Regions from separate parts of the Homo sapiens genome. Here regions 1, 2, 3, 5 and 6 are each linked to region 4. The links are contacts of gene promoters, found by promoter capture Hi-C in blood cells and fetal thymus (Javierre and others, 2016). All regions are on one chromosome and are shown on one strand. Each heading gives the region's core, a stretch centred on a gene start or on the middle of the fragment in contact. The rest is flanking DNA. Distances are from core to core; before and after follow the strand shown.

Region 1 (3,665 bases), core at 219-2,718, 220 kb after region 4:
CTAACTTTTTAGAAAAATGAATTTTAAAAACATATATGGGTTCATATTAGAAAAGTATCATTGTAGCAGGATGAGCCTCAGACAAGAACCCCTCAGAAACCGAGTTGTAGAAGGAAAGGGCTTTATTCAGCTGGGAGCATCGGTGGATTCACGTCTCCAAAAGCCGAGCTCCCCGAGTGAGCAATTCCTGTCCCTTTTAAGGGCTTACAACTCTAAGGCGGTCCGCGTGAGAGGGTCGTGATCGATTGAGTAAGCAGAGGGTACGTGACTGGGGGCTGCATGCACTGGTAATCAGAACGGAAAGGAAGAGGACAGGGATTTTCACGACGCTTTTCCATACAATGTCTGAAATCTATAGATAACAGAAGAGTTAGGTCGGGGTTGATTTTTAACTCCAGGCCCAGGGTGCAGTGCTGGGCTATCTGCCTGTGGATTCCATTTCTGCCTTTTAGTTTTTACTACTTCTTTCTTTGGATTCAGAAATTGGGCATAAGACAATATGAGGGGTGGTCTCCTCCCTTATCATGTGCTTACTGTAAAAAAATCAGAGTTGGGCACAGTGGCTCACACCTGTAATCCCAGCACTTTGGGAGGCTGAGGCGGGAGAATCACTTGAGCCCAGGAGTGCAAGACCAGCCTGAGCAACACAGTGAGTCCCTATCTCTACAGAAAAAAAAAGAAAAATCAAAAGTTATCCAGGCAAGATGGTGTGCGCCTATGGTCCAGCCTACTCAAGAGGCTGAGGCTGGAGGATGGCTTGAGCCCAGAAGGTCAAGGCTGCAGTGAGCCATGATCGCACCATTGCACTCCAGCCTGTGTGACAGAACGAGACCCTGTCTCAAAAAAAAGAAAGCTTTAAAAGGGTGAATTTTGTATGTGTGATTCATATCTCAGTAAAGCTGTTATTAAAAAAAATAAATAAATAAAAGCAGGCCGCCGGGCATAGTGGCTCACACCTGTAATCCCAGCACTTTGGGAGGCTGAGGTGGGCAGATTACCTGAGGTCAGGAGTTTGAGACCAACCTGGCCAACATGATGAAGCCCCGTATTTACTAAAAATACAAAAATTAGTGGGAATAGTGGTGGGTGCCTGTAATCACAGCTACTCAGGAGGCTGAGGCAGGAGAATCGCTTGAACCTGGGAGGCAGAAGTTGCAGTGGGCCAAGATTGCCCCACTGCACTCCAGCCTGGGCAATAGAGTGAGACTCCATCTCAGAAAAAAAAAAAAAAAAGCTAGAGAGAAGAAAGTAAAATATCCTTTGAGTCACCCAACCCCAGACTGCAAGTAGCCACTCATTCATTCCACAAATACTCTCTGAGGGCCTGTTCTATGCAGGCTATGTGCCAAGGGTTTACACCCTAGGAGCAGTGCCACCCCAGTATCTGTCCCCCGTGACCAGTGACTGCCCCTCCTCTATAATATCTATTGACTGACCTCTCTGACCTCACCTCATTTCTTTCCTCCAGTGCCCCGGCTCCAGCAGTCCATGGATCCTGCCCCCTTTGCATGTCCCTCAGCCTGCCTGCCCTCCGTGTCCTTCCTGCCCAGCCTACAATTCATGGTCAGGCCCCACCCCCACCCCCTCCTGCGGTCCTGACAAAACCCCAACACTGGTCAGTCCCACTGCTCCACCTCCACCGCATCTCACCTGCACTTGCGCAGCTCAATGTCACACCACCTTGCCAGCTGCTTCCCTTTCAACTCATGACACAAAACCCAAGAGGGCCCTTAGTGGATGTCAGGATCAGTCACTGTCCCCATGACCCTTGCACCCCTCTTTTCTCCTCTCTATAAAATAAGGGTGATAATATTTCTGTCTCCCGGGGCTGTTGGCAGCATCAGTAGTAGGTCCTTGCTCGGGGGCAGCTACTGGGGTTAGTTCCTCTGGTGCTCAGTCCAAGAGTTCCCTGGTGTCTTGGTGTCCGCGGAGTCCCACCCTGCGGTCATTTATTTTGTTCCGCTGGTTGGGCAGGCCTGGGCTCTCTGCCAGATCTGATCATCCTCCCAGAGACAGGAGGGAACGGAATGTGGCACCAGGCAGTAAGACGCATGGCTGAGCTCAGCAGGAGAGGGAAGCTTCCAACTTCCTGCAGCGAATGTCCTAGGTGATAGGTCAAGTCTGACCCCGCCAGTGAGGCCAACATGGAAACTTACTAGGGCCTCGAAAAGGTGTGTGTGGGAGTTCAGAGAGGAGTGGAGACAGCCGGCCTCCCAATCTGGACCCACAGGGCAGGGCAGGGAGAGGAGATGGCCCCGCCTCCAGGAATCCAGGCTGCACCTCCCTCCAGGGAACTCAGATCAAAGCCAGGAGGAAGGAGGAGTGTGAACTTTGCACCCAGTGACTCACTGCATCCCCCTAGGGCAAGTGCTCTCACCCGTGCAGAATCCTGCCCTCCTTGCCACTGACGGGACCATCCGCACTGGGTCAGCCTATGAGCAACACTGACCTGATTCACCTGCACGCCTTCATTCCCCCACCTTCATCCTCCTCCTCGCAGAGGTGATCAGATGTTTGCAGGTGCCTGCCTGTGTTTACAAGTAGGTCTTGGAAGATAAGAGAGGCGGTGGGAGGGGTGGGAAAGCCCTGTTCTGGCAGTCAGGACACCCAGGGCTTGGCCACTAACCAGCTGTGTGAGCTCGGCCGGTCTCACACCCTCTCTGGGCCCGGCCACCACCTCTGTGGTTATGGGCAGTTGGACTCTATGGCAAGTTCATCTGCCCTACCGGCTTGGGGTTCTACCGGCTTGGGGTTCTACTGGCTTGGGGTTCTTCCTTCTCACCGTTGCCCCCCTGGGAAAAAGCCCCAATCCTGGCACAGAGTCTAGGAAGCCTTGCTGCTTTGGTTCCTGCCTGAGTCTGGCCCTCATCCTGCACTTCCCACATGCTCAGCCACATTCAGCTGTGCCCAGCTCAGAGAGCAAGCGCCTGGATAGCTCTTGTTCCAGAGCCTCGCCTGGCTGACCCCTGCACACCCTTTAGGCCCAGCTCTGACATCACTTTCTCCATGGCCTGCCCTCCTGGACTCCTGGCTGTGCCTCCCCAGCACGGACTGTTCTCTTTTCTCCTTTTTCCATTAAACTGAGCTCTGTGCCAAGGGCAGTGACTGGCAGATGGGAGGGGTCAATGAGTATTTTATTAAAGAGTGAGTGAATGAATGAACAAATGAATGAATGAAGCGGGATCTCTAGGCACACTGGAGTGGAGCCACTGTTTGCTTTCTGCCCGTGGGACTTGATTTGAAGCCATCTCAGGGTGGGCCATTGGGAGTTCTACCTTGCCAAGGAGGGGTTGCTGGTCAGAGGGGTGCTGGAAGCGGGGGGGTTGCTGGGGGAAAGGGTGCAGATTTGCAAGGGAGGTTCTGGCTGAGCTCCCTGCATGCCACAGCCCGTCTGAGCAGTCTTGGGAAACCCCAAGCTGCCAGGCCCATGACTCACAGGCCCCAGAGAGCATTCTTAACCCTCCCTGACCCCCCATGTGCCTTCTGATTGGGCCCTCAGGGTGACCCCTCATGGGTTTCTCTCCTGCTTCAGCCAGCCCCTCCCTGTGGTCTGAAGTTTGGGATCCTGCTAACTGTAAAGGACCAGTTCAGGATTCCTGGGTCGTATTGTGTTTTTTGTTTGTTTGTTTGTTTTTGAGATGGAGTTTTGCTCTTGTTGCCCAGGC
Region 2 (3,693 bases), core at 1,002-3,501, 140 kb after region 4:
TCTAGCCTGGGCAACAACACAAGACTCTGTCTCAAAAAAAAAGAAAAAAAGTACATCGTTCTAATGCAAAGCTAACACACTGGAGAAGAGAGAGACATAAGACTTTCCATATCTTAACATGGCAGAAGAGCTGAAAAGTTTGGTTACTTGAAGTTCTTCTATATGCTTTCCTTGTTACTTTAAGCAAACACCACAAAGGGTTTCACATGTCTGCTTCCCCGCCCAGGAACTGTGTGTGTGTCTTTCTTTCCCCCATTCCTGTTCCCAAGCTTCTCCCTTATATCTTCTAGCTTATGACAATGCAAAGTAAATTTTAATAATGTAACAACTATATAATGAAAATGTGAGAAATACATTTTTTAAAAATCAGCTCATTCTAATTTTTAAAATCTATTTAAGAAGAAAGCTTGCTCTAAAATTCCAATCTCTGGTGGGTGCAGTGACCCTGTCACCCATTGCCTCCTTTCCCCTCTCTCTTCTGGGAAGAAGGGGGTTTCCTGCTGAGGAGGGAAGGGAAACTTCATCCTAGCCCCATGACTCAGACTTGGTTGGACCCTGGGGGAACCAAGAGCCCCAGGGGGGCTGTGGCCTGTGATGCTGCCAAGCAGAGCCATGAGGGCCTACCAACCTACTCTTCTGCCATCACTCTGAAACTTGAGCATTACCCAACACCTGCCAGCCCTCTAGGCTGTGCCTTTCATCCTAGTACAGGTGTGTCCCATTGTATATGCCCAGTTTGCGTCAGCTGTCCACACCATCTAGTTAGTACCTGTGCATTCCTCGGCTCATGGCAAATAAGAATTTTCTTTTTTTGAAATGGAGTCTTGTTCTGTTGCCCAGGCTGGAGTGCAGTGGTACGATCTTGGCTCACTGCAACCTCCATCTCCCAGGTTCAAGCGATTCTCGCACCTCAGCCACCATAGTAGCTGGGATTACAGGCGCCCACCACTACACCTGGCTAATTTTTGTATTTTTAGTAGAGATGGGGTTTCACCATCTTGGCCAGGCTGATCTTGAATTCCTGACCTCATGATCTACCCGCCTCAACCTCCCAACGTGCTGGGATTACAGGTGTGAGCCACTGCACCTGGCCTAAAGGAAATTCTTACAACTTGATTGGGGGGGCGGGAATCCAATAATAGGGAACTATAGAAATAAAGTATGTTCAACTTCAATCAAGGGATTTTAAAATAAATGCTTCTGTGGAATTTACGCATTTAAAATGTTCTGTTGAAAGGAAATGTGGCTCAATAAACGGCCATGACAGAGAAACAAAAAGACGTCGAGCAGTACATAGCAGCACATGGAGCCATGAAGGCCCAGTTCTCACCAGTAAAATACTGTAAATGGTTTTGCAGAAACAATAGATGTGTTATTTATAAGGACTTCACAACTAGACTGCCATTAATCCCATGTTTACTCATCTGAAATACCCCACTAGCAATCTCTTCATCAAAAGTGTAACTATTAATAAGGATGGAGGGTGATTAATTTCCCCATCAGTCATGGAGACAGAAGACAAACTTGTTTCCATAGGTAAAACCAAGCTATATTTTGTCCACTATACGAGTGCTAACTTTAAACATCTTTAAAGGACTTTCAGGAATGTCACAGTTTCACAAGTTGTAAAGATCACAAGAAATAACTTATTTCTTCCAAAAGGAAAACTGAACATTCTGAATTTCATAACATCTCAAAATATTACACTTTGAATTCAATATAATTAAAGAGGAAAAGAGAACATCTGATAAAAGGGAATAATGTAAACTGAACACCAGAGGATTATTTCTGTACACTTGCTTCAATCACAATTTAAATGACAAAAACTTTTAGCTATCTACATCAATTTTGCTTTATCCTTCATGTTAACTAAGAACTGTATCTAAGTATTTCAACTACTTATTGGACATGTATTCTGAGAAAGGCAATATACTAGGTTCTGTGATATGCATTCAGGCCACTCAGTCTTGTTCTTTCATATCACCAGAAAGTTCATTCTGCTTTTTACACATCAGGATAATCTGATTCTTAATACAATGTCTCTCCCACCTGTTCCAAATTTTCCTTCTCTGAGGTACCAAGAGTAGGAAAAACAGAGATTATGGATAAGTCACCAGTTGCCTTTCTAAAGCAGAGATCTCAACAAGCTATCTCCTTTCTTAAATCTTTTAATGGCCCTCTCTGCATACAGAATAAAACCCAAAAGTTGGGCGTGATGGCTCACACCTGTAATCCTAGCACTTGGGAGGCAGAGGAGGGAAGATCGCTTGAAGCCAGGAGCTCAAGACCAGCCTGGACAACAAAGTGAGACTTTGTCTCTACGAAAAATTTAAAAATTAGCAAGGTGTAAGTGATGTGCACCTATAATCCCAGCTACTCAGGAGACTGAAACAGGAGGATGGTTTGAGCCCAGGAGCTATGACCACTGCACTCCAGCAGCCTGGGCAACAGAGCAGGATTCTGTCTCTTCAAAATAAAAAAAAAATCATTACCACAGTTAAATCATTCTAAATTATCTGCTATGCTCAAAACATCCTTCCACCTCAGGTTGTTCCTTCTGCCCACAGTGTTCCCTGTCTAGCCTAAACCTCCTCTCTTCTTGTTGAAGTCCTGCATATCCTTCATAGCCTAACCAAATGCTACCTATCAGGTCTTCCCAGCAGTCAAAAGATTTATCTCACTGTTCTTTTTATGTATAGATACAAAAGCTATCATTGGCCGGGCACAGTGGCTCATGCCTGTAATCCCAGCACTCTGGGAGGCTGAGGTGGGTGGATCACTTGAGGTCAGGAGTTCGAGACCAGCCTAGCCAATGTAGTGAAACCCCTGTCTCTACTAAAAAATACAAAAATTAGCCGGGCATGGTGGCAGTGCCTGTAATCCCAGCTCCTCAGGAGGCTGAGTCAAGAGAATCGCTTGAACCCGAGAGGCAGAGGTTGCAGTGAGCCAAGATTGCGCCACCGCACTCCAGCCTGGGCGAGAGTGAGACCCTGTCTCAAAAAAAAAAAAAAAAAAAAAAGCTATAATTACATAAAATTTGTCACATCAGTGAAACTAGAAGGAATCAATAAGTTAATGAATGAGGTTCAAGTAACTCACTAAAAGCAACATGTAAATATAGGGTTGAAATCTGTTAGCTCTAGAAAATATGACTATATATGAAATGAAACCAATAACCTAAGTAAATGCTCTATAACCTCTCAGAAGGGAAAAAAAAATAGTGATTTATAAAAAGGAAGAATCTACACAGACATAAGACAGTGGTAACAGAGCAAGAATCTCTCAGTGATTCTTCCCCAAGCCCACGGTAAGAAGGTGCCTTCAACCAGCAGATTTCAGTATGCCTTACTTCCTTGTCAGGTATGGTCCTACAGTGCAAATCAGAGGGAAAAAAACATACAAGAGCCCAAATCTGGCCTTTTAGGTGGAAATTCCAATTTTTTAAACACTGGCAATAATTTAAATTTAAAACACTATACAAGGTGAATTAAATTTGTCTGCTGGGCCAGGCGCGGTGGCTCACGCCTGTAATCCCAGCACTTTGGGAGGTCGAGGCGGGCGGATGGCGAGGTCAGGAGATCAAGACCATCCTGGCTAACACGGTGAAACCCCATCTCTACTAAAAATACAAAAAATTAGCTGGGCGTGGTAGCGGGAGCCTGTAGTCCCAGCTACTCGAGAGGCTGAGGCAGA
Region 3 (3,843 bases), core at 1,184-3,683, 240 kb after region 4:
GTGATGTCAATGAAAGCATTTTATAAATTAAAAAATACTACCTACAGGCCAGGTGCGGTGGCTCACACCTGTAATTCCAGCTCTTTGGGAGGCTGAGGTGGGCGGATCACGAGGTCAGGAGATCAAGACCATCCTGGCTAACACAGTGAAACCCCATCTCTACTAAAAATACAAAAAATTAGCCAGGCGTGGTGGCAGGCGCCTGTGGTCCCAGCTACTCGGGAGGCTGAGGCAGGAGAATGGCGTGAACCCGGGAGGTGCAGCTTGCAGTGAGCCGAGATTGCACCACTGCACTCCAGCCTGGGCGACAGAGCGAGACTCCGTCTCAAAAAAAAAAAAAAAAAACAATACTACCTACATATAAAAGTATTGTTATCCTTCCAACAATAGTCATAAATAATATGGACCCCAAAGCAAGTAGAAATGGTGAGATGTGGGTGTGGGCAGTGCAGGGAAACCCATTTTTCTTCTTAGTTAACAGCACTCAACTCCTTCCAGGCTGCTGCAGTTCAAGAGCCTCATTATTTTTTTTTTTTTTTTTTTGAGACAGAGTCTTGCTCTGTTGCCCAGGCTGGAGGATTAGAGTGCAGTGGCACAATCTCTGCTCACTGCAACCTCTGCCTCCAGGTTCAAGTGATTCTCCTGCCTCAACCTCCCAAGTAGCTGGGACTACAGGTGTGCGCCACCATACCCAGCTAATTTTTTTTGAGACAGAGTCTCACTCTGTCTCCAGGCTGGAGTGCAGTGGTGCAATCTCGGCTCACTGCAACCTCTGCCTCCCGGATTCAAGAAATTCCCCTGACTCACCCTCCCGAGTAGCTGGGACTACAGACACACGCCACCACACCCAGGTAATTTTTGTATTTTTAGTAGAGATGGGGTTTCACCTTGTTGGCCAGGATGGTCTCCATCTCTTGACCGCCTGCCTCAGCCTCCCAAAGTGCTGGGATCACCAGCATGAGCCACCATGCCTGGCCAAGAAGCCTCATCTTCTGACACATAACTGCTGGAGTCCAAATGCCGACTTACTACACCACCTCGGCCAAGTCATCAAGGACTACCGGGGGGGTTTATTCGCTTCCTGGCCAGGCTCAGGAAGGTGCCAGTCACTGCTGGAACTCGTGAGGATGATGTTGGGGATAACAGCACTTAAACTTCCTCACTGGGCTTTCAAAATGCATTATCAGCAGGACTTTGACCTATAACCAACAAAGACAATGTAATTACTCAGCAATTTATCAACTTCTCTACCCAGCTCCTTTGATAACCTCAGTGAAAATAGCCTCTGGGTTCCAGTATCTGTTTAAATAAATGGGAGTGAACAGGTGTGTCGAAATACTCATCGGCTGAGTAAGAGATCTGCTCTGGGGCTCTCCACTTAGGTCCCCGCATAAAAGTTGCCACCTTGTCACCATCACCGGAGAAGACAGAAGCTTCAGTGACAAGGAGCCAGCTGTAGAAGGGGTGGGAGAGGATTTCTGAGCCTCCTCAGCAGGACTGACTACATAATTTGTACGATCTAGGACAAAATAAAAATGTGGGGCCCCTTGTTCAAAAATTAAGAATTTTGACTGGGTGTGGTGGCTCACGCCACCCAGCACTTTGGGAGGCCAAGGCGGGCAGATCACTTGAGATCAGGAGTTCAACACCAGGCTGGCCAACATGGCGAAACCCCATCTCTACTAAAAATACAAAAAATTACCCGGGCATGGTGGTGTAAGCCTGTCATTCCAGCTACTCAGGAGGCTGAGGCAAGAGAATTGCTTGAACCTGACAGGCAGAGGTTGCAGTGAGCCGAGATAGCGCCACTGTACTCCAGCTTGGGTAACAAAGTGAGACTCAGTCTCTACAAAAAAAAAATTTAAGAATTTCAGGCCGTGCGCAGTGGCTCATGCATGTGATCTCAGCACTTTGGGAGGCCAAGGTGAGAGGATCGCTTGAGCCTAGGAGTTCAAGACCAGCCTGGGCAAATTTTTGTAGAGAAGTCAACTCTACAAAAATTTTAAAAATAAAAAAATTAGCTGGGCGTGGTGGTGCGCACCTGTACTTCCAGCTACTCAGGATGCTAAGGTGAGAGAACTGCTTGAGCCCAAAAGTTCGTTCAAGGCTACAGTGAGCTATGATCACACTACTGCACTCCAGCCTGACTCCAGTCTCTGTCTCTATTAAAAACAAACAAACAAACAAAAATCAAGAATTTAAAGACAGCAATAGCAGAACTTCAAAACTAGCATAGGACCCTTCTGATCACCAAGCCACATGTGATGACTCCTGGGCCCTTCTTCCTGGGACAACTGCACCAGCTTCTAATCAGCTCGCCCATCTCAGCCTGACCCCTCTCTGCAGCCTGAAGTCCAGACTCTCTAGCCTGGCACCATAGTCCTTTCCTTCTCTCTGACCTAATCATTAACCATAACCCCAGCCCTCTACACTCCAGTCACATCTACAAACTTCCACTTCTGGCCGGGTGCAGTGGCTCACACCTGTAATCCCAGCACTTTGGGAGGCTGAGGCAGGTGGATCACTTGAGGTCAGGAGTTCAAGACCAGCCTGGCCAACGTGGTGAAATCTCATCTCTACTAAATACAAAAATTAGTCAGGTGTGGTGGCACATGCCTGTAGTCCCAGCTGCTTGGTAGGCTGAGGCAGGAGAACCGCATGAACCCAGGAGGTGGAGGTTGCAGTGAGCTGAGATCGCACTGGTGCACTCCAGCCTGGGTGACAGAGTGAGACGCCATCTCAAAAAATAAATAAATAAAAATTTAATAAAAACAATTTAAAAGAGACAATTTCTAAGTGAAAAAGTAACATTCAAAAGAGTTGATCTAGGCTGGGTGCAGTGGCTCATGCCTGTAATCCCAGCACTTTGGGAGGCCGAGGCAGGTGGATCACCTGAGGTCAGGAGTTCAAGACCAGCCTGGCCAACATGGAGAAACAACATCTCTACTAAAAATACAAAAATTAGCCGGGCGTGGTGGCACGCACCTGTAATCCCAGCTACTCAGGAGGCTGAGGCAGGGAGAATTGCTTGAACCAGGGAGCTGGAGGTTGCAGTAAGCCAAGATCATGCCACTGCACTCTAACTTGGGAGACAGAGTGAGACTGTCTCAAAAATAAAAAAACGCTGGGCACGGTGGCTCACGCCTGTAATCCCAGCACTCTGGGAAGCTGAGGTGGGCAGATCACCTGAGGTCAGGAGTTTGAGACCAGCCTGACCAACATGGAGAAACCACATCTTTACTAAAAATACAAAACATTAGCTGGGCGTGGTGGTGCATGCCTGTAATCCCAATTACTCGGGAGGCTGAGGCAGGGGAATCGCTTGAACTCGGGAGGTGGAGGTTGCAGTGAGCTGAGATCACGCCATTGCACTCCAGCCTGGGTAACGCGAGTGAAATCCCATCTCAAAAAAAAAAAAGAAAAAGAAGCTTCCACTTCCTCTGATTCTTCAGGCTTGCTCGTGTTACCGTGGATTTTTGTAGCTCTTTTCCCCTTTCTGGACTTCTCCCCTCTATGAATATCTGGCAAACTCCTACTCATCCTGCAAGGCCCAGTCAAGCATTGCCTCCTACATGAGTGCCTTTGATTCTACCATCCTGGTTAGACCATCACTGCCTTCTTTATCCCAAAGCTGATTTATTTTTTATTTTTATTTATTTATTTTTAAGACAGGGTTTCACCATGTTGCCCAGGCTGGTCTCGAACTCGTGAGCTCAAGTAATCCACCCATCTCAGCTTCCCAAAGTGCTGGGATTACAGGTGTGAGGCACTGCACCAGGCCCCCAAAGCTGATTTCTACATTCTCTTGCCCAGCACCTGGAAAAGGCACTGTGGTGTGGATCT
Region 4 (3,411 bases), core at 174-2,673:
GGAGACAGGTGAACCCTCGCCCCCGTGGGAACTGCCAGTTGGATAGGGAAGAAGGGACACAGCAGAGAGTCACAGCACACAGGAAGACTATGTCACACTGCCAGGTGCTGTGGGAGGACAAAGACAGTCAGTGCTGGGGGCATCTGGACTGGGTGTGGGCCCATGTGAGCAGGAGCAGTCAGAGAGGCCTCCCTGGGGGAGGAGGCATTGGAGCTGATCTGGGACGGAAGGGACGGATTTGGAGAGGACAGCAGAGGCCCTTAACTGCAACCTGGGCAGAGCAGAGGGCCTGGCCGCCTCTCAGAATGGCCTCCACCCTGGCCCAGGGCAAGGTCAGTCCCAGCTTTGCTGAGCAAGCAGGTGGGTAGGGAGGGGCTTCTCTGGCTCTTCCGGGCCAGCCTGTCTCCATAGGCACATGTTCAAACCACCTCGGCCTCTGAAGGGCTTTGGGTCCAACACATCTAGGTTCGAATCCCAGCTCTGCCACTTACGCAACTGCGAGCCCCGCCCTTTCCAAGAGGCTTCGCTTCCCCGTCCGTAACATGGGAAGAGCCCCTCCACCCTCCCAGCTGTGTGGGGATCAAACGGGGCCGTGCTGGACAGCTTGCAGCCAGGAGCCCATGCCCAGAAGGCATTCTAGAACTCAGGGCTAGAATAATTGTCTTCCGGAATTCTCTTTTACCTCTGACTGAAATCCCACCTAAGGCGCTCGCAGGCATCACCTCTGACACAGAGATGGAGCAGACAGTTGCCGGGAACACAACCTTCTAGACCTTTAAGGAGAAAGCTGCCAACTTTGTCCTCTTGGGGCTGCTGAATGTTCTGAGAGTCAGAGGGAGTGCAGGCACAGAATCCAGGTCCCCATGGGGGCTGGCAGGGGACAGCTGCACATTTTACACCCCCTGGCAGGGCTCAACCTTTCCTTAGAGATGGGCTGTGAAGGTTGTCTGCCTTGAGGGAAGGAGCTCCTGACGTCACAGAGCGGTGGTGCTTCCACCTACCCTGTCCCCAAGGAGCCTGCACACTGATGGAGGAGGTACAGCCGTGGAGGAGAACCAGAGTCTGGAGGGGAGGCACAGTCCTCAGGAGCCCCCAGGCTGACGGGGGAAACAAAACACACAATAAACCCCAAACTTGCAAGGTTCTGGGGCAGGCACCGAGGTCCGAGTGGCAAGGAGACAGGATCCAGCCCTGTGCAGTGGTGAGGAGGCCCCTGGGGCTGCTGTGATCAGCCTGGAATGTCAGGCTGTGAGCTCAGCCCTCTCGGCCTGCGTGTCGGGCTGTCAGCAGGGCCGGCGCACGGGAGAAGATTTCCAGCCCCCTCTGGGCCATGGAGAGGCCTAAATTTAGCTAGTAGACAAGGGGCTGGCCCCAAGCCCAGGGACAGTCGGCCTTATAAAGCGGCCGCAGTCGGAGCCTGGCACGCTCGCCCAGAGGCCTGCGCCCACACCCTCTCCTGTCCAGCCCTCGCCCGCCTGGGCAGGGCCCGGCGCCGTCCGTGGATGAGCCACAGAACCTCTTCCACCTTCCGAGCGGAGAGAAGTTTCCATTCCTCTTCCTCTTCCTCCTCCTCTTCCACCTCCTCCTCGGCCTCCCGTGCTCTCCCGGCCCAGGACCCGCCCATGGAGAAGGCCCTGAGCATGTTTTCCGATGACTTTGGCAGCTTCATGCGGCCCCACTCGGAGCCCCTGGCCTTCCCAGGCAAGTGATCCGGGCCCTGAGGGGAGGGGAGGTGCACAGGGAGGGGACGTCTGCTCCAGGGCGCCACCGAAGGCGCTGTGGCTGCCGGTCGGCCTGGAACAGGTGCTGCACAGCCTGCAGCCATGTGTGGCCACCAAGACAGATGTGGCCACAGGGACAGATGTGGCCATGAAAACAGGTGGGCCTCTAAGGAACAGTTGTGGCCCTGGGGGTTGGACATGGTTCCATGGCCACCCATGCTCTGTAACCACAGCCAATCCCAGCTGGAGCCCTGGAGGGCTGGATGGGTGAGCGGTGGGGGGCAGCCCCCAGGCTCCAGGCCTGGGGTGGGGTTGTTACAGACCTAGCCTCATATACACACACACTGTGCTGGGTGAGGCCCCACCCCCACCCCAGAAAAGGTGGGCTGTAGGAATGAGGAGGAGCTTAGGGAGAAACAGCTAGGGGGGAGGTAGGGCCTGGGGGAGCCGCCCCTTGCCCCAAGAGAAGGAGCCAGAACCCCCGGATCTGCATGCAAGGCCTGCTCCATGCCTCGCTCACAGCAGCCCATCCCACAGCCCGCCCCGGTGGGGCAGGCAACATCAAGACCCTAGGAGACGCCTATGAGTTTGCGGTGGACGTGAGAGACTTCTCACCTGAAGACATCATTGTCACCACCTCCAACAACCACATCGAGGTGCGGGCTGAGAAGGTGAGCCCCCCACCCCCTACTCACCGCATCCCAAATTCTGCTCCTGCCTCCAATGTCTCCTACTCCCCCTTACCATCCTGGGACCCCAGACCCTGGCCAGTGTCCCTTCCCCACCCAAACTCCCCCAGGGCTAACTGAAGGCCTTGTCCCTGCAACCCATGGCCATGGGGCCCCCTCACTGCCTCTCTTTGCACCGAGGTTCCCAGATCCTTTCTTCCAGGGCCTGAGCAGCTGAGGGAGCCTCCGAGGAATGGGAGAGGGATGGAGGGATGTGGGCAGAGGGAGCCTGAGGGGGTGGGGCTTGAGGGTGGGAGATGACAGGTGTGAGATGGTGATGGCAGAGTGAGGACAGCTCCTCTGGTAGCTATAGGGGGGCGGATGCGGGTAGGTGGGGAACTCACCTGGGCAGTGGGGGGAGGGGTTTCTCCATGTGACCCACCTCAAGCCCTCTTCCCTCCCACAGCTGGAGACCCATCCCCCATCTTGGGACCCCTAAATTAGGCCCGAGGCTGGGCAGGGGCCCTGCAGTTTCGGGTCACACACACTCCAAACCACACACAGCGCCCGCCCACAGGTCTCAGGGTCACTGGGTCTCTAGCGTGTCTGAGTCCGAACTTCTAGGAGGCACTGGGGCCTCCACCCTGGAGAGGGTATGGCCAGGCCTGAACAGGGGCGTTGCCCAGGGACAGCCACGGCTGCCAGGAGAGAGGAGAGGACCTGACCCAAGCCTCCTCCTAAGCCCCCAAGGACTGGCTTCTTCCCCTCCACATTCAAGGGTGGATTTCTGGGCGTCCCTGCCAGGGATGCCATGGACTGGGGGCACCAAAACCCACAGGCAGCATGTGCCAGCCCTGCCACCCCCAACAGTGACTCAGCCGCCCCAAACTCCCCTGGACACTATGTGCTGGCTGAGTTGCGGGGGAGGGGCCGGCGCTCAGCCCTGGCGGGCAGATGCCCAATGTGCCCGGGGATCCAGGAAGGCACGGCTCTCCTCTGTCACCTCCACGTTCCCCAGGAGC
Region 5 (3,725 bases), core at 150-2,649, 160 kb after region 4:
CACCTGTAATCCTACCACTTTGGGAGGCTGAGGTAGGCAGACCACAAGGTCAGGAGATCGAAGCCATCCTGGCTAACACAGTGAAACCCCATCTCTACTAAAAATACAAAAAGTTAGCCAGGAATGGTGGTGGGCACCTGTAGTCCCAGCTACTCAGGAGGCTGAGGCAGGAGAATGGCGTGAACCTGGGAGGCGGAGCTTACAGTAAGCTGAGATTGCATCACTGCACTCTAGCCTGGGCGACAGAGCGAGACTCCGTCTCAAAAAAAAAAAAAGCAGAAAGTGCTGGGATTACAGGCATGAGCTACCCGCACTTCACCGAAAAAAAATTATTTATGCACATACATACTCACATTATATTTTACTCCAATCTAATGAAAAATTATTTATTAAGTAAAATTAACTTTTAACAAAGGGACAGTGTTCAACTGACAAACCTCTCAAAAGATTGTCAAATTATGAGGAGAAAAATTCCAAAGTTTCTGTAATCTTTAGATTCTACTGGTTAGAGCAAATAAAAAGCCTGAATATTTTAGACAATCTTGGAAAAAATTCACAGTGTGCTTCCTCCCCAGAGAACAAGACAGGAGTTTATACTGCAAGAATCAAAAAGTAAAGTGCAGGAATATAAATAATCACGATGACCATTAAGCTAACATTCGGACACTATTCTCACAATAATTAATGAGTAGCTTTCATAAATGTATCTGATTTACATAGTACTTTTCTAGGAAGAACTGAAGTATAATTGTAAATAGAACTGCTAATAACCAAAATAAAACATTTATTAAAGTAATGACAGTAAACAAAGCACTTAGATTAAGAAAAAAGGTGCAAGGCAAGCTGATCCAAACACGAAGGCTACAAAACACAAAGCTGAAGTTAGCAGAAGCCAAGAGACTAAATCATAAATTAGCAAAAATCCACATCAAGAGTCCCTCAAAAGGCCAAGAATGGTGGCTAACTCCCGCAATTTTTGTTTTTTGTTTTTTTATTTTTTGAGACGGAGTCTCACTCTGTCACCCAGGCTGGAGTAAAGTGGCGCAATCTCAGCTCACTGCAACCTCGGCCTCCCAGGTTCAAGCGATTCTCCTGCCTCAGCCTCCTGAGTAGCTGTGATTACAGGCATGTGCTACCACGCCCAGCTAATTTTTTCATATTTTTAGTAGAGACGGGGTTTCACCATATTGACCAGGCTGGTCTCAAACTCCTGACCTTGTGATCCACCCGCTTCAGTTTCCCAAAGTGCTGGGATTACAGGAGTGAGCCACCGCACCCGGCCCAGTCCTGTTATTTCAGCATTCTGGGAGGCCAAGGTGAGAGGATGTTTAAAGCAAGGAGTTTTGAGACCAGCCTGGAAACACAGCAAGACCCTGTCACTACTCCCCCCACAAAAAAAAGAGAGTCCTTGCTGGGAATGGAAAGGACTCTAAAAAGGTGCTTACTAATACTGTTATTTACAGTACAACTGCTGAGAAGGAAATCAGCTTCTATCCTTAGGACTTACTTTTCAGTAAAATAATAATTTTTTAAAACTATGGGAAATATACAAATATTTCTAATATTTCACTTAACTAGTGACTTTTATCCTTACTCCATAAAAAAGTATCTGGGCCAGGCACGCTGGCTCACACCTGTAATCCCAGCATTTTGGGAAGCCGAGGTAGGTGGATCATGAGGTCAGGAGTTCGAGACGAGCCTGGCCAACATACTGAAACCCCGTTACTACTAAAAATACAAAAATTAGCCAGGTGTGGTGGCATGTGCCTATAGTCCTAGGTACTTGGGAGGCTGAGGCGGGAGAATCGCTTGAACCCGGGAGGTGGAATGCAGTGAGCCGAGACCACACCATCTGCACTCCAGCCTAGGTGACAGAGTGAGATTCCGTCTCAAAAAAAAAAAAAAAAGTCACTCAGCCTGACCAATGTGATGAAACCCCATCTCTACCAAAAAGCAATTTTTTAAAAAAATTAGCTGGACATGGTGGCACGCAACTGTAGTCCAAGCTACTTGGGAGGCTGAGGTGGCAGAATCAATTGAACCCAGGAGGCAGAGATTGCAGTGAGCCAAGACCGTGCCACTGCTCTCCAGCCTGGGCCACAGAGTAAGACTGTCTCAGAAACAAAACAAAACAAAACAAAAGTCCGGGCACAGTGGCTCACTCCTGTAATCCTGGCACTTTGGGAGGCCGAGGCAGGCGGATGACAAGGTCAGGTTATCGAGACCATCCTGGCCAACATGGTGAAACCCCGTCTCTACTAAAATACAAAAAATTAGCCAGGCATCGTGGCATGTGCCTGTAGTCCAGCTACTCAGGAGGCTGAGGCAGGGGAATCGCTTGAATCCGGGAGGTGGAGGTTGCAATGAGCCAAGATTGTGCCACTGCACTCCAGCCTGGAGACAGAGCAAGACTCCATCTCAAAAAAAAAAAAGTCACTAATAGCCAGACTCACACACCTGTAATGGTCACACCTGTAATCCCAGCACTTCGGGAGGCTGAGGCGGGAGGATATCCTGAGACCAGGAGTTTGAGACCATCCTGGGCAATACAGTGGGACCTTATCTACACACACACACACACACACACACACACACACACTACAGTGGGACCTTAGCTACACATACACACACACACACACACACACACACACACACACACACACCTCTGAAGCTACTTGGGAGGCTGAGATGAGAGGGTCACTTGATGAGCCTGGGAGGTTGAGGCTGCAGTGAGCTGGGATTATACCACTCCCCTCCAACCTGGGTAACAGAACAAGGCTGTCTCAAAAAGAAAAACAGTCACTGAAGTCTATGCCTTAAGATGTTAACTACGCCAGGCACGGTGGCTCACGCCTGTAATCCCAGCACTTTGGGAGGCCGAGGCGGGCGGATCACGAGGTCAGGAGATCGAGACCATCCTGGCTAACACAGTGAAACCCCGTCTCTACTAAAAATACAAAAAATTAGCCGGGTGTGGTGGCGGGCGCCTGTAATCCCAGCTACTCAGGAGGCTGAGGCAGGCGAATGGCATGAACCCGGGAGGTGGAGCTTGCAGTGAGCTGAGATCGCACCACTGCACTCCAGCCTGGGTGACAGAGCAAGACTCCGTCTCAAAAAAAAAAAAAAAAAAAAAAAAGATGTTAACTGATCATTCTTTATACTTATTAAATACCTGAGCCTCTCCAGTCAACATTTTAATCTTCTGAATTATAGCATCTCTAGAACTAAAAGCTTTCTCCAGAAATAAGAAGTCTTTTTAGGAAAAGTCCTCTCGAAAATCATTTTTAAAACAAATTTCAAATCAATCCAATATACAGGAAATAAAATGCTACAACTCTTTGAGACACAAAGCTGTGATGAAAGTTCCTTTTCAGGCCGGGCACAGTGGCTCAAGCCTGTAATCCCAGCACTTTGGGAGGCCGAGGCGGGCGGATCACAAGGTCAGGAGATAGAGACCATCCTGGCTAACACGGTGAAACCCTGTCTCTACTAAAAATACAAAAAATTAGCCGGGCGTGGTGGCGGGGGCTGTGGCGGGCACCTGTGGTCCCAGCTACTCGGGAGGCTGAGGCAGGAGAATGGTGTGAACCCAGGAGGCGGAGCTTGCAGTGAGCCGAGATCCCGCCACTGCACTCCAGCCTGGGCGACAGAGCAAGACTCCCTCTCAAAAAAAAAAAAAAAAAGAAAAGAAAAAGAAAACAGAAAAAGAAAATGAACTATAAATA
Region 6 (3,339 bases), core at 63-2,562, 200 kb after region 4:
GTAGGGAATGGATGTGGGTTGGAGAGTGGAAAGAATTGACAGGATGACCTGAGCCCTGAAGTAGGAGGGAAGGGCTGCATAAGCAAAGGAACTGGCTTTCGATAGTTCAGCTAGTAGAGGACTGGAGGATGGAATGTATGGGGGCAGATGCTGGCAAGCAAATGTGGTTGAGCAAGTCCATGCCAGAAATGCCACAAATTTACCAAGAGACAGAGTCAAGATAATTATCTATGCTGGCTGGGCACCATGGTTCACGCCTGTAATCCCAACACTTTGGGAGGCCAAAGCAGGTGGATCACCTGAGGTCAGGAGTTCAAGACCAGCCTGGCCAACATGGTGAAACCCCATCTCTACCAAAAAAAAAAAAAAAATACAAAAATTAGCTGGGCGTGGTGGCGCATGCCTGTAGTCTCAGCTACTCAGGAGGCTGAGGAAGGAGAATTGCTTGAACCTGGGAGGTGGAGGTCGCAGTAAGCCGAGATCACGCCATTGCAGTCCAGCCTTGGCGACAGAGCGAGACTCCGTCTCAAAAAAAAAAAAAAAATCTATGCTTCATTTTTCCAAATTAAGATAGAAAAAATGATAGAATACACCAGTCAAAATGATTGGATTCACCTTCTGTGTTCTTGGGCAAGTTACATAAACATTTTTGTAGGGTCTTGGTGTGTTTTCTTTTTGTCTGAATGGTCATCTTCTAGACTAGTGCCTGGCAAACAGTAGTTGCTCGACAAATATTCATTGAGTTAATTTTAGAAATTTATTAAATCTATTAAGTATATATAACACATCTACCCCACAGGATTGTTTTGAACATTCAATCAAATCAGATAATAGATGTAAACGTGCTTTATAATCTGAGAAATACTATTTAAACTGTTTATGTTAATATGAGGATAAAGTCCACTGAGTTTTTTTACTTCTTTTTTTTTTTTTTGTGACAGAGTCTCGCACTGTCGCCAGCGCTGGAGTGCAGTGGCGTGATCTCAGCTCACTGCAACCTCCACCTCCCGGATTCAAACGATTCTTCTGCCTCAGCCTCCCAAGTAGCTGGGATTACAGATGCCCCCCACCACGCCCAGCTAATTTTTTGTATTTTTAGTAGAGATGGGGTTTCACTATCTTGGCCAGGCTGGTCTCAAACTCCTGACCTCGTGATCTGCTCGCCTCGGCCTCCCAAAGTGCTGGGATTACAGGCATGAGCCACCACGCCCGGCTTTTTTTACTTCTTTTCTTTTTTTTGTTTTTGAGACAGAGTCTCGCTCTGTCGCCCAGGCTGGAGTGCAGTGGCACAATCTTGGCTCACTGCAAGCTCCGCCTCCCGGGTTCACACCATTCTCCTGCCTCAGCCTCCCGAGTAGCTGGGACTACAGGCGCCCACCACCATGCCCAGCTAATGTTTTGTATTTTTAGTAGAGATGGGGTTTCACCGTGTTAGCCATGATGGTCTCAATCTCCTGACCTTGTGATCCACATGCCTCGGCCTCCCAAAGTGCTGGGATTACAGGCGTGAGCCACCATGCCCGGCTTTTTTATTTCTTAAATGGATTTTTTTAAAAGCATAGAGGAATACACCAAGACTCTAATGATTCTGTCAACTGCTTTGAAATTCATGGATGGAGTATAATAATATTTTACAAAATAGTTTTGCCCTATAAAACCATATAGTATTACAGAACTGTCTGTGTTGTTTTTTTGTTTGTTTGTTTTTTGAGATAAAGTCTCACTCTGTCACCCAAGCTGGAGCACAGTGACACAATCTCGGCTCACTGCAACCTCCACCTCCTGGGTTCAAGTGATTCTCCTGCCTCACCCTCCTGAGTAGCTGGGATTACAGGTGTGCGCCACCACGCCCGGCTCATTTTTTTTGTATTTTTAGTAGAGACAGGGTTTAACCATTTTGGCCAGGCTGGTCTTAAACTCCTGACCTCAAATGATCCTCCCCTCTCGGCCTCCCAAAGTGCTGGGATTACAGGCGTGAGCCACTGCACCTGGCCCTATAGAACTGTTAAAAGCATAAAAAGGCCAGGATCAGTGGCTCATGCCTGTCACCCCAGCACTTTGGGAGGCCAAAGTGGGGGGATCGCTTGAGGCCAGGAGTTCAAAAAAGACAGCATACAAAGCTGTGAAGTCAATTAGCTTTATGTCATAAATTAAATCCCGAATTACATTTATAATGCTGGGCACGTGAGTGTTATATTACATCTTTTTATTTTTATCTTTTTTTTTTTAGACAGGATCTCACTCTCTCACCCAGGCTGGAGTACAGTGGCATGATCATAGCTCATTGCAACCTCTTCACCTCCTGAGCTCAAGCCATCTTCCCCCCTCAGCCTCCCACGTAGCTGGGACTAGAGGCACACACCACGCTGCCCTGCTAGTTTTTGTATTTTTTGTAGAGATGGGGTTTTGCCCTGTTGCCCAGGCTGGTCTTAAACTACTGGGCTCAAGCAATCCACCTGCCCTGGCATCCCAAAGTGCTGAGGTCAGAGCCACTGCACCCACCTAGCCGTCTTTTTTCTTTTCTTTCTTCTTGGTAGCTTATAATTTCCAAAGCAAATGCAGCATTAGAGTTGTAACTTTTCTGTGTAACATAATTAAGTTGTTTTTTTTTGAGATGGAGTCTCGCTCTGTTGCCCAGGCTGGAGTGCAGTGGCATGATCTCAGCTCACTACAACCTCCACCTCCCGGGTTCAAGCTATTCTCCCACCTCAGCCCCTTGAGTAGCTGGGACTACAGGCACACGCCACCACGCCTGGCTAATTTTTTTTGTATTTTTAGTAGAGACGGGTTTCACTATGTTGGCCAAGCTGGCTTGAACCCCTGACCTCTGGTGATCTACTCACCTCAGCCTGCCAAAGTCCTGGGGCTACAGGTGTGAGCCACTGTGCCTGGCCAGAATTAACTTTTAAATGTATGGATATTTCTGCTACGGATTTCTTAATTCCTTCCTAACTAATCATACCCCAAGTAAACTGAACTATTCATTTTCATGATAAGTCTGTATGGTCTTCCTGAATATTATAGGAGTGATCTGAACCAAAGTTCTAGCTGATAAAAATTTTGTAAAAATCTAATTCAGTGCATTTCCATTGTCTCATGCATTCCAGGGACTAAAGTAAGTAATATTCTTGATTGCTGAAGTTTGAAGGCAGTTTCCTGTCTGCTGAGGTTTTATTTCTAGAAGCCCTTATCATTGGTCCTGATAGAATATCTGCAAGGAGAAATGAATCAACTCACGCCATCATTTTCACATTTATCATTACCACTGGAGATTAAGATATTACATAATTAGCCAAGGTCATATAAAAGGATTCATTGGAACAATTTAGGATTAAATTT

The links. Contacts are between HindIII fragments. The CHiCAGO score rates a contact against its expected background, and 5 or more counts as called.
Region 1: a fragment that was not itself captured here is called in contact with the fragment with the promoter of HSPB7 in region 4 in 16 of 17 cell types (endothelial precursors, activated CD4 T cells, M1 macrophages and 13 more); the score reaches 25.8 in endothelial precursors.
Region 2: a fragment that was not itself captured here is called in contact with the fragment with the promoter of HSPB7 in region 4 in 1 of 17 cell types (activated CD4 T cells); the score reaches 7.1 in activated CD4 T cells.
Region 3: a fragment that was not itself captured here is called in contact with the fragment with the promoter of HSPB7 in region 4 in 5 of 17 cell types (endothelial precursors, activated CD4 T cells, naive B cells and 2 more); the score reaches 7.9 in endothelial precursors.
Region 5: a fragment that was not itself captured here is called in contact with the fragment with the promoter of HSPB7 in region 4 in 1 of 17 cell types (activated CD4 T cells); the score reaches 6.2 in activated CD4 T cells.
Region 6: a contact is called between a fragment that was not itself captured here and the fragment with the promoter of HSPB7 in region 4, in 5 of 17 cell types (endothelial precursors, activated CD4 T cells, total B cells and 2 more). The highest score is 10.9, in endothelial precursors.

Annotation. Positions count from the first base shown.
Region 1 is chr1:15,798,980-15,802,644 of GRCh38, reverse strand. No RefSeq gene overlaps it. Among named protein-coding and RNA genes, the nearest start is that of UQCRHL, 6.8 kb to the left of the region's middle. RefSeq lists an enhancer at 2,117-2,411. The HindIII fragment of the contact is 1,225 bases long and covers 856-2,080 here.
Region 2 is chr1:15,879,780-15,883,472 of GRCh38, reverse strand. All of the region lies in intron 3 of SPEN (spen family transcriptional repressor), which reads right to left. Among named protein-coding and RNA genes, the nearest start is that of SPEN-AS1, 33 kb to the right of the region's middle. The HindIII fragment of the contact is 3,686 bases long and covers 409-3,693 here.
Region 3 is chr1:15,778,221-15,782,063 of GRCh38, reverse strand. The region is part of intron 8 of FBLIM1 (filamin binding LIM protein 1); the gene reads right to left. Among named protein-coding and RNA genes, the nearest start is that of FBLIM1, 21 kb to the right of the region's middle. The HindIII fragment of the contact is 1,995 bases long and covers 1,436-3,430 here.
Region 4 is chr1:16,016,055-16,019,465 of GRCh38, reverse strand. HSPB7 (heat shock protein family B (small) member 7) reads left to right here and starts at 1,423. Exons shown (of 3, transcript NM_014424.5): 1 at 1,423-1,701; 2 at 2,259-2,392. The coding sequence starts at 1,503. RefSeq lists enhancers at 1,130-1,874, 1,875-2,621. The HindIII fragment of the contact is 15,911 bases long and covers 1-3,411 here.
Region 5 is chr1:15,859,317-15,863,041 of GRCh38, reverse strand. All of the region lies in intron 1 of SPEN (spen family transcriptional repressor), which reads right to left. Among named protein-coding and RNA genes, the nearest start is that of SPEN-AS1, 13 kb to the right of the region's middle. The HindIII fragment of the contact is 3,669 bases long and covers 1-3,233 here.
Region 6 is chr1:15,817,432-15,820,770 of GRCh38, reverse strand. No RefSeq gene overlaps it. Among named protein-coding and RNA genes, the nearest start is that of UQCRHL, 11 kb to the right of the region's middle. The HindIII fragment of the contact is 8,082 bases long and covers 1-3,339 here.